2 separate regions of the Homo sapiens genome follow, and region 2 is linked to region 1. Evidence: promoter capture Hi-C in 16 types of primary human blood cells and fetal thymus (Javierre and others, 2016). All regions are on one chromosome and are shown on one strand. Each heading gives the region's core, a stretch centred on a gene start or on the middle of the fragment in contact. The rest is flanking DNA. Distances are from core to core; before and after follow the strand shown. Region 1 holds the start of KLRF2 (killer cell lectin like receptor F2). Region 2 has its middle 17 kb from the start of CLEC7A.

Region 1 (4,426 bases), core at 1,572-4,071:
TCCAATTAATGATGCTTATATGACATCTATGCTATAGTATTTCATCGCATTAGAGTTGGCAAGAATAGCTTCCTTATAAAGGAATAAACAAGTAATCTCTAGAGAGGTTAAACAGGGGCATGTATAATAATCCTCTTTCAATTTTATCTACTTTTTTCCACATATTAGCACTTTTGAATAAATTGGATGTATACACTTTTTTCACAAAACTATGACAGGTTCCTTTTATATGCAGACATCATATAATTAATATCTCAATCTACAATCATTTTAGTCAGTTTGCCAGGCTAGTGGCCAAAGAGAAAGCAAAGTAATTTGAGATACTCTGATAATTATTCCCTATTTTTTATTCTTTTATCTATAAACAAACATTTAATTTCATCACCTTGGTTGTACATTTCACAAATAATTTGTCTTCTAAGTCATAATAAAAGTGCTGTTTCTCAAATCTAATTTCTGTGTGGATGCTTTACTTCAATAGGTTTTATGGATTTACTGCATTTGATTAGATCTATAGTATATACTTAGAGAATTTACTGTATGTAGTGTACCTTTTGAAATTTGCTACTCAATTGTCTGTATTACTAAGTCCAAAATAATTTTCTTTCTTTTTCTTCCCTGTAGATATTTCTGCTGTTCAAGCAAATATGGAAAGACTTCTACTTAATTGAAAATCGTCAAAATACATTTCTGCAATTTTATGAGAAAATATCAATCAAGGGTATATGGATCTGTAGTTAACAAGTGCTCTTTCCATACATGCCAGGGAGGGAGACTTTAAACTTCTTGCCAAATAAGATTTATAAAAAACTGAACAATAGACCAAAAATTAATATTTTCATGTAAGCCATGATTTACATACTATATCAAGCCAGGTGAACAGAGAGCTGAGTACATGAAGTGCAGTATGCTGGCCTATCCTAGCACTGCTTGGCTAGATGCCATTGGCTTACACAGGGCTATATGAAGAAATTGTCTTACAAAATCTGCTGGTGCTACTATTGCAAGAACACTAATTGTATTATTTTATGTGCTTCATGAGAACTCAGGAAAATATTTTTTCTGATTTAGGATCAAGATTAATTATATCAATCTTAAGGAATAGGTGTAACTTTATCTTATACACAATGTGAACTGAACAACTGGTAAGAATTCCCTTAGGTCAGTAATAACAAGGAAGCTTGGAAGCAAATGTATAGCAAGCACAAACATGCCTACAGTAATTTTTCTGGCCCAATTTATTTTCCCAGCCCTATCCTTCCTTCATTCATAATTTAAATGGATATTATCTTATATTTTATGTATCAATACTCAGATTTTAAGTCTCTGTACACATTTGTATATTAAAAAGTAGTTTATAGATTAAAAAATAGTAAATTTAGTTTAACATCCACATAAAAGCATCATCAGGTAGATTTTTCTTATTATATATCAAAGTATTGAGATTTAAGAAGGCTAAAAGCTTCTGCCCAGAGCCATACATTTAGTCTGTGGGCTTTAGGGTCTGAATAATTTTTTTTGTTTTTTTATATATGGAGTCTTGCTCTGTCACTCAGGCTGGAGTGCAGTGGCATGATCTCAGCTGACTGCAACCTCCGTCTCCCGGGTTCAAGCGATTCTCCTGCCTCAGCCTCCCAAGTAGTTGGGATTACAGGCACACGCCACCATACCCAGCTAATTTTTTTTGTATTTTTAGTAGAGACGGGGTTTCACCATGTTGGCCAGGCTGGTCTCGAATTCCTGACCTCAGGTGACCCGCCCACCTCTGCATCCCAAAGTGCTGGGATTACAGGCATGAGCCACCGTGCCTGGTCTGCCTCAGTCAATTTAACACCAATGGTACTAGTTTTTGCTGCATGGAAGTAAGTTACTATTGAAAAAGTAAACATTTGTTTCATGATATTGAAACACAAAAAAGATCTGAGTCTTCAGATAATAACAAAAGTGTCATTTTGTGGGGGCAGGGGGTGCAGGGGAAGTTTGCATTTGCTAGATATAAAATGAGATTGTACACGAGAATGTTCAATACATATGGCAGAACTGCCACTGCGACTGGTAATTCTGAATTTCTGGCCTATGTCATCTTAACTTAGGTCTTGGCTATTTCAACAAGATTGTTTTCAAAATTCCTGAAAAAGCAAACAAAGCCAACCACAGAGCAGCCCTAAGGAGCAAAGATTAATGTTTTTTTGTTTTTTTTTCTCTCTTCTCGCATTCCCAGTAGATTGTTCTACCAATCCTATAGGGCTTTTACGAAGATTAAAAATATTATATATGTATAAGCATAAATATATATATAAGCATATATATACGCTTTAAGTTTATATAAACTTTAAGTTTTGTAGGAGGAAGTTTCTGTAAAAACACAATTTTTCAGCCTTTTCTTCGAAAGTGATGTTCTTATGCTACAACACACAGGATTACACATCGTCATATTCGCATTTCTCTTACCTCATGGCTCTGAAAATGCAGACTTTTTATTGTTGATGCTTTCATGAATCTAAATAATCTAACAGACAATTTATGACCATTTTTATATTCCTTATTATGATCAATGTTAAGATGTTAAAAATATTCTAAGATAATTCTCTTCCTAGAAGAATAATGAAATTTTAAATGCGGTGATGGGGAGCAGTATTCCTACCTTTAGATTTCTGCTTCGATTTACAACGATTCTTGAAACTCAGCGTCATATACCCATCTTCATTCTCCATCTCTTCAAATGTCTAATGTCTTATTATCCAGAAAATAGTACAAAGAAAATGGAAACTAATCTCAACCTTGGATATGTCTCTTTGGCACAAGGTACTAAAAGAAAACTAAAAGGAAGGCCAAAAATAGTCAAAATTTACTCAGACACAGATGTCTAAAACCACACAGGATGTGTTGGTAAATGAAAATGGATATAAGCTTGTTAATATCTGGCTACAATTCTGTGAATTTCAAGGTAAAGGTAGCTAGTGTGTTCCACTGTTTTCAACAAATGGACTTGTGTGTTCCTGCCACTTGTGTGCGGTGTATTAGAAACATAATTCCTTCCTTCATGTCTTTTATAATAAAGTAAGAGAAAAAATAAAATAAAACAAATAATCTCTAAACAAACAGAACAAATGTCTAGGTAAATAAAAATTCAAATTAAAAAAGTTAAAATAGCAATTTTGTTATTTGGGACATATTTGACTAGTAGAGTCCAAATAACGATGGTTAGATGGGACAAAAATAGGAAAATAAAAGATCAGCAAGTCTCAAGTTAGTGAAAATCGGAATCACTTGCAAAGAATTTAACTTTTTAAACTTTTTTGTTTGTTTGTTTGTTTTTCAGAAAACGCCAGGCAGATTTTCCTTCAGTAGGTGTGGCAGTTTATTTTGTGTCAACTTGGCTGAGTCACAGAGAGTCCAGATAGTTGATCAGACATCATTCTGCTTATTTCTGTGAGGGTGTTTTTGGATGGGATTCATATTTAAATAGGTGACCTTTGAGTAAGGCAGATTTGCCTCCTCTGTAATGTGACTGGGCCTTATTGAGTCAGTTGGAGCCTTGAATAGAACAAAAAGACTTGTCTTCCCTGAGTGAGAGAGAATTCTCCAGCAATGGCCTTCAGACTATCTGCAGCATTAGCTCCTCCTGATTCTACAGACGGTGGACTTTGCATTTGAATTGAGCCTTCCTAGGTACCCAGTCTGTCCATGCTCATTTGCAGAATTTTGACTTACCAGCCTCCATAATCACATTCCTTATTTTATATATATTTCACTTAACACGCACACACACACACACACACACACACATGCTAATGGTTCTGTTTCTGCTACGTGGCCACTCAATATCAATCCATTGATTTAACACCGAGTGTCTGGGGAAGGTGGCTGACTGTTTCCCACAGCACATGTTGTGTTCACCTGATTATTGAGTCTCCTCCTCAACACTGGATGTCACTTGTGAGTATTTACATGGGAATGAATATTTACACACGCCGCGTCCATTCTGCATGATCTCTATATGTACCTCTTAGCTTCTCATTCATTTTTCTATTTTGTTCTTTTTGAGTTTCCGACAAGTCATCTCACCTATTAGTTTCTGATAAGATGATTTAGATGTATTTCTCTGAGTGCTTATCCTTCCTGTTAGGTTCACAACCAGACATATTGTCCAAACTTCTGTTCAGTGGGAAGACTTACCTTCACTTCTGTCTTTCACAGTCTTCTCCTGAATGGGACTGTAGTGTGGCATCTATTCCAGCTGCCGTATTTTACATAACCACTGATAAACTTATTTTTTTCAACTACTTCAGTGTAAGATCGTACAGAACCCTCTTTTCCATCCCCAACCCGGGTCATAGGTATGGTTGAGGTGGAGATAGCAAAGGAATGCGAACATGTGCCATCGGAGTCTGAGCCATCTGCTCATGCAGTTTACTGTGCTTCT
Region 2 (4,560 bases), core at 1,115-3,614, 270 kb before region 1:
TTGCACACCTACAATTATCTGGTCTTTGACAAAGTTGACAAAAACGACCAATAGGAAAGGACTCCCTGTTCAGTAAAAGTGCTGGAATATACTGGCTAGCCATATGCAGAAGATTGAAACTGGTGAAACCCTACCTTTCATCACACATAAAAATTGATTCAAAATGGATTAAAGACTTAAGACCTCAAACTATAAAATTCTAGAAATAAATCGAGGAAATACCCTACTCAACATCAGCTAAGGCAGATAATTTATGGCTAAATCTTTAAAAGCAATTGCAACAAAAACAGTAATCAACAATAGGACCTAATTAAACTAAAGAGGTTTGCATAGCAAAAGAAACTATCAACAGAGAAATTAGACAATCTACAGAATACGAGAAAATGTTAGTAAAGTATGCATCTGACAAAGGTGTAATAATCCAGAATCTATAAGAAATTTAGGCCAGGTGTGGTGGCTCACACCTGTAATCCCAGCAATTTGGGAGGCCAAGGTGGGTGGATCACCTGAGGTCAGAAGTTCGAGACCAACCTGGCCAACATGGTGAAACCCCATCTCTACTAAAAATACAAAAGTTAGCCAGGTGTGGTAGCACGCACCTGTAGTCCCAGCTACTCAGGAGGCTGAGGCAGGAGAATCACTTGAACCTGGGAGGTAGAGACTGCAGTGAGCTGAGATTGCACCATTGCACTCCAGCCTGGGCAACAAAAGCGAAACCCCATCTCAAAAAAAAAAAAAAAAAAAAAAAGAAGCAGCAGCAGCAGCTTAAACAAATCAGCAAGCAATAAACAAATAACCCCATTAAAAAGAGGCAAAGGACATGAACAGACACTTCACAGAAGAGGACATACAAGCGGCCTACAAACATATGAAAAAATGATCATCATCACTAATCATTAGAGAAATGCAAATTAAAACCACAATGAGACACCATCTCTCACCAGTCAGAATGGCTATTATTAGTCATAAAACAACAGATGGTGGCAAGGCTGCAGAGAAAAGAGAATGCTTATACCCTGTTGGTGGGAATGTAAATTAGTTCAGCCACTATAAAAAGCAGTTTGGAGATTTCTGAAAGAACTTAAAACAGAACTATGATTCAATCTGAAAATCTCATTTCTGGATATATATCTGAAGGAAAATAAATCACTCTACCAAAAAGCACGTGCACTCGTATGCTCATCACAGCACTATTCACAATAGCAAAGACATGGAATCAACCTAGGTGTCCATTGACAGTGGATTGTATAAGGAAAATGTGGTACATATACACCATGGAATACTACACAGCCATAAAAAAGAATGAAATCATGTTGTTTGCAACAACATGGAGGCAGCTGGTGGCCATTATCCTAAGTGAATTAACATAGGAACAGTGAACCAAATACTGCATGTACTCACTTACAAGTGGGAGCTAAGCATTGAGTACGCATGGACGTAATAATGAGAACAATAGATACTGGGAACTACTAGAAGGGGGAGGGAGGGAGGAAGGGAAATGTCAGCTGAAAAACTACCTATTGGGTACTATGCTCTCTTCCTAGGTGACAGAATGATCTGCACTACAAACCTCAGCATCATGAAATTTACCCATGTAACAAACCTGCATATGTACCCACTGAATCTAGAATAAAAGTTGAAATTGCTGTCTAAAAAAGCTCTTTGTTTCATTGACTTTGTCTATATATTTTTGTTTCCTATTTCATTAATTTCTACTTTGATTGCTATTGTTTCTTTTTTCTACTTAGTTGGGTTTTAATTTCTTCTTTTTCTTGTTTCTTAATATGGAAGCTGAGTTCATTAATTTGAGGCATTTCTTCTTTTTTATATAGTCATGCAGTGCTTTAAACTTTCCTTTAAATATTGCTTTAGTGGTATACAACAGATTCTGGTATGGTAATTTTTCACATTTATTCAGTTCAAAACACTTTCTAATTTCCCTTCAAATTTCCTCTTTGATTCATTGATTATTTAGAATGTGTTAATTTCCAAATACTTGGGAATTTTCCAGAAATCATTATACTATTAGTTTCCATGTGAGAAGAAACATTTTTAATGACTTAAACCCTTAAATTTATTGAGACATTTTATGGCCAAAAATATGATCTATCTTGGCAAATTTTCCATGTACACTTAAAAAGAATATGTAATCTGTTGTCGTTGGATGGAATGTTGTTAAAATGTACATCAAATAAATGCGGACAATAATTTGATTCAAGTCTTTATTTATTTATTTAGTTTTGAGAAGGTGTCTCGGTCTCTGTCGGCCAGGCTGGAGTGCAGTGGCGCGGGTGCAACCTCCGCCTCCCGGGTTCAAGCGATTCTCCTCTCTCAGCCTCCTGCGAAGCTGGGATTACAGTCATGTGCCACCATGCCCGGCTATATATATATATAGTTTTTTGAGACAGAGTTTCGCTTTTGTCCCCCAGGCTGGAGTGCAGTGGCGCGATCTTGGCTCACTGCAACCTCCGCCTCCTGGGTTCAAGAGATTCTCCTGCCTCAGCCTCCCGAGTAGCTGGGATTACAGGCATACACCACCATGCCCCTCTAATTTTTGTATTCTTAGTTTCGTCAAGTTGGCCAGACTGGTCTTGAACTCCAGACCTCAGGTGATCCACCTGACTCGCCTCGCAAAGTGCTGGGATTACAGGCATGAGTCACCATCCCCAGTCTGGTTGAAGTCTGTTATATGCTTGCTGATATTTTTTGTCTATTATCATATCAATTATTGAAAAAGGAGTATCTAACCTTTGATGATAATTATGATTTTGTCTACTTCTCCTGTAGTTCTATCAGGTTTGCTTTGTATATTTTAAAGCTCTGATAATCAAGGCATAAATATTATGGATTTTCATTCTCTCTTGATGAACTGACCTCTAACCAAGTAAACTTTTTTATTCCTGTTAGTAATGTTTGTTCTGAAATCTATTAGTCTGAAATTAGTACAGCCACTCCTGCTTTTCTTTGATTAATATTGGCATGATATATCTTTTTTTATCCTTTTACTTTTAACCTATTTTTTTGTCTTTAAACCGAGTATATTCCTTTTAGCTGACATAACATTTGGGCTCGCTATTTTACATCATTTAACAATTTCTTTTGGGTGTTTAAAACATTTACATTTAATGAAATTCTGATTAATTATACTTAAGTCTGTCATCTTGATATTTGTTTTCAATTTGTCTCCTTTGATCTATTTCCTATTTCTTTTTCCTCCTTTTTTTTTTTTTTTTTTAGACGGAGTCTCGCTCTGTCGCCCAGGCTGGAGTGCAGTGGCCGATCTCTGCTCACTGCAAGCTCCGCCTCCCAGGTTGATGCCATTCTCCTGCCTCAGCCTCCCAAGTAGCTGGGACTACAGGCACCTGCCACCATGCCTGGCTAATTTTTTGTATTTTTTAGTAGAGACAGGGTTTCACCATGTTAGCCAGGATGGTCTCGATCTCTTGACCTTGTGATCTGCCTGCCTTGGCCTCCCAAAGTGCTGGGATTACAGGTGTGAGCCACCGTGCCCGGCCTCCTGAAGAATTTTTTAAATGTTTTCTCTACTGAAATTCTGTTTGTGATTAATTCTGATTTAAGATGTCTGAAAACATTATTATTTCATCTGTACTTTTAAATGATATTTTCACTGGGTGTAGAATGCTAGGCTGACAGATTTTTTTGTATACTTCAAAAATGTTACTCCACAGTCTTCTTACTTGTATTATTTCTTATGACAAATATTCTATCATTCTTTGTTTCTCTGTACATAATTATCTATGCTTTTGTTAGATATTTTATTTTCGTTTTGTCACAGGGTTTATGCATTTTTTATTATGATGTGCCTTGGTGAAGTTTTTTTGTTTGTTTCTTGTATTCAGAGTTCTTTAGCTTTTGGATCTATTGTTTTACATTTTTCATTAGCTTTGAAAATGTTAAGCATTATTTTTTCAAATATGTTTTCTGCTCCAACCTCTACCCCACTCCCACACACTGTTAAGGGATTTAATACACGCGTATTAGGCGCTAGAAATTATCTCCCAGCAACCTAATGCTCTGCTCTGCCCTTTCCCTCCCGTCCCCTCCCCTCTCTTACTTTCCGCTTCTCTTCCCCCTGCCTTCTTTCCTTTCTATTACTTTCTGTTCTTTCTCCTTCTCTTTTCCTTCTTTTTTTTTTTTTTGAGACAGAGTCTCACTCTGTCGCCCAGGCTGGAGTGCAGTGGCACGATCTCGGCTCACTGCAAGCTCCACCTCCCGGGTTCATGCCATTCTCCTGCCTCAGCCTCCCAAGTACTACAGGTGCCCGCCACCACGCCCGGCTAATTTTTTGTATTTATTAGTAGAGATGGGATTTCACCTAGATAGCCAGGATGGTCTCGATCTCCTGACTTCGTGATCCACCCGCCTCGGCCTCCCAAAGTGCTGGGATTACAGGCGTGGGCCACCGCGCCTGGCCTCTTTTCCTTCTTTCTTGCTTGCCTTCCTTCTTTTATTTTACTTTTCTTTCTTCTTCCCTTTCTTTCTTTTCCTTTTAAAATTATATTCTCTCGGGGCTTCATTTTTAATAGTGACTCTTGTTAT

Evidence for each region. Contacts are between HindIII fragments. The CHiCAGO score rates a contact against its expected background, and 5 or more counts as called.
Region 2: a fragment that was not itself captured here is called in contact with the fragment with the promoter of KLRF2 in region 1 in 1 of 17 cell types (neutrophils); the score reaches 6.3 in neutrophils.

The regions. Positions count from the first base shown.
Region 1 is chr12:9,879,884-9,884,309 of GRCh38, reverse strand. KLRF2 (killer cell lectin like receptor F2) reads right to left here and starts at 2,821. Exons shown (of 6, transcript NM_001190765.1): 1 at 2,645-2,821. The coding sequence starts at 2,714. It also overlaps a transcript of CLEC2A not described here. The HindIII fragment of the contact is 1,448 bases long and covers 1,465-2,912 here.
Region 2 is chr12:10,144,645-10,149,204 of GRCh38, reverse strand. No RefSeq gene overlaps it. Among named protein-coding and RNA genes, the nearest start is that of CLEC7A, 17 kb to the right of the region's middle. The HindIII fragment of the contact is 6,553 bases long and covers 1-4,560 here.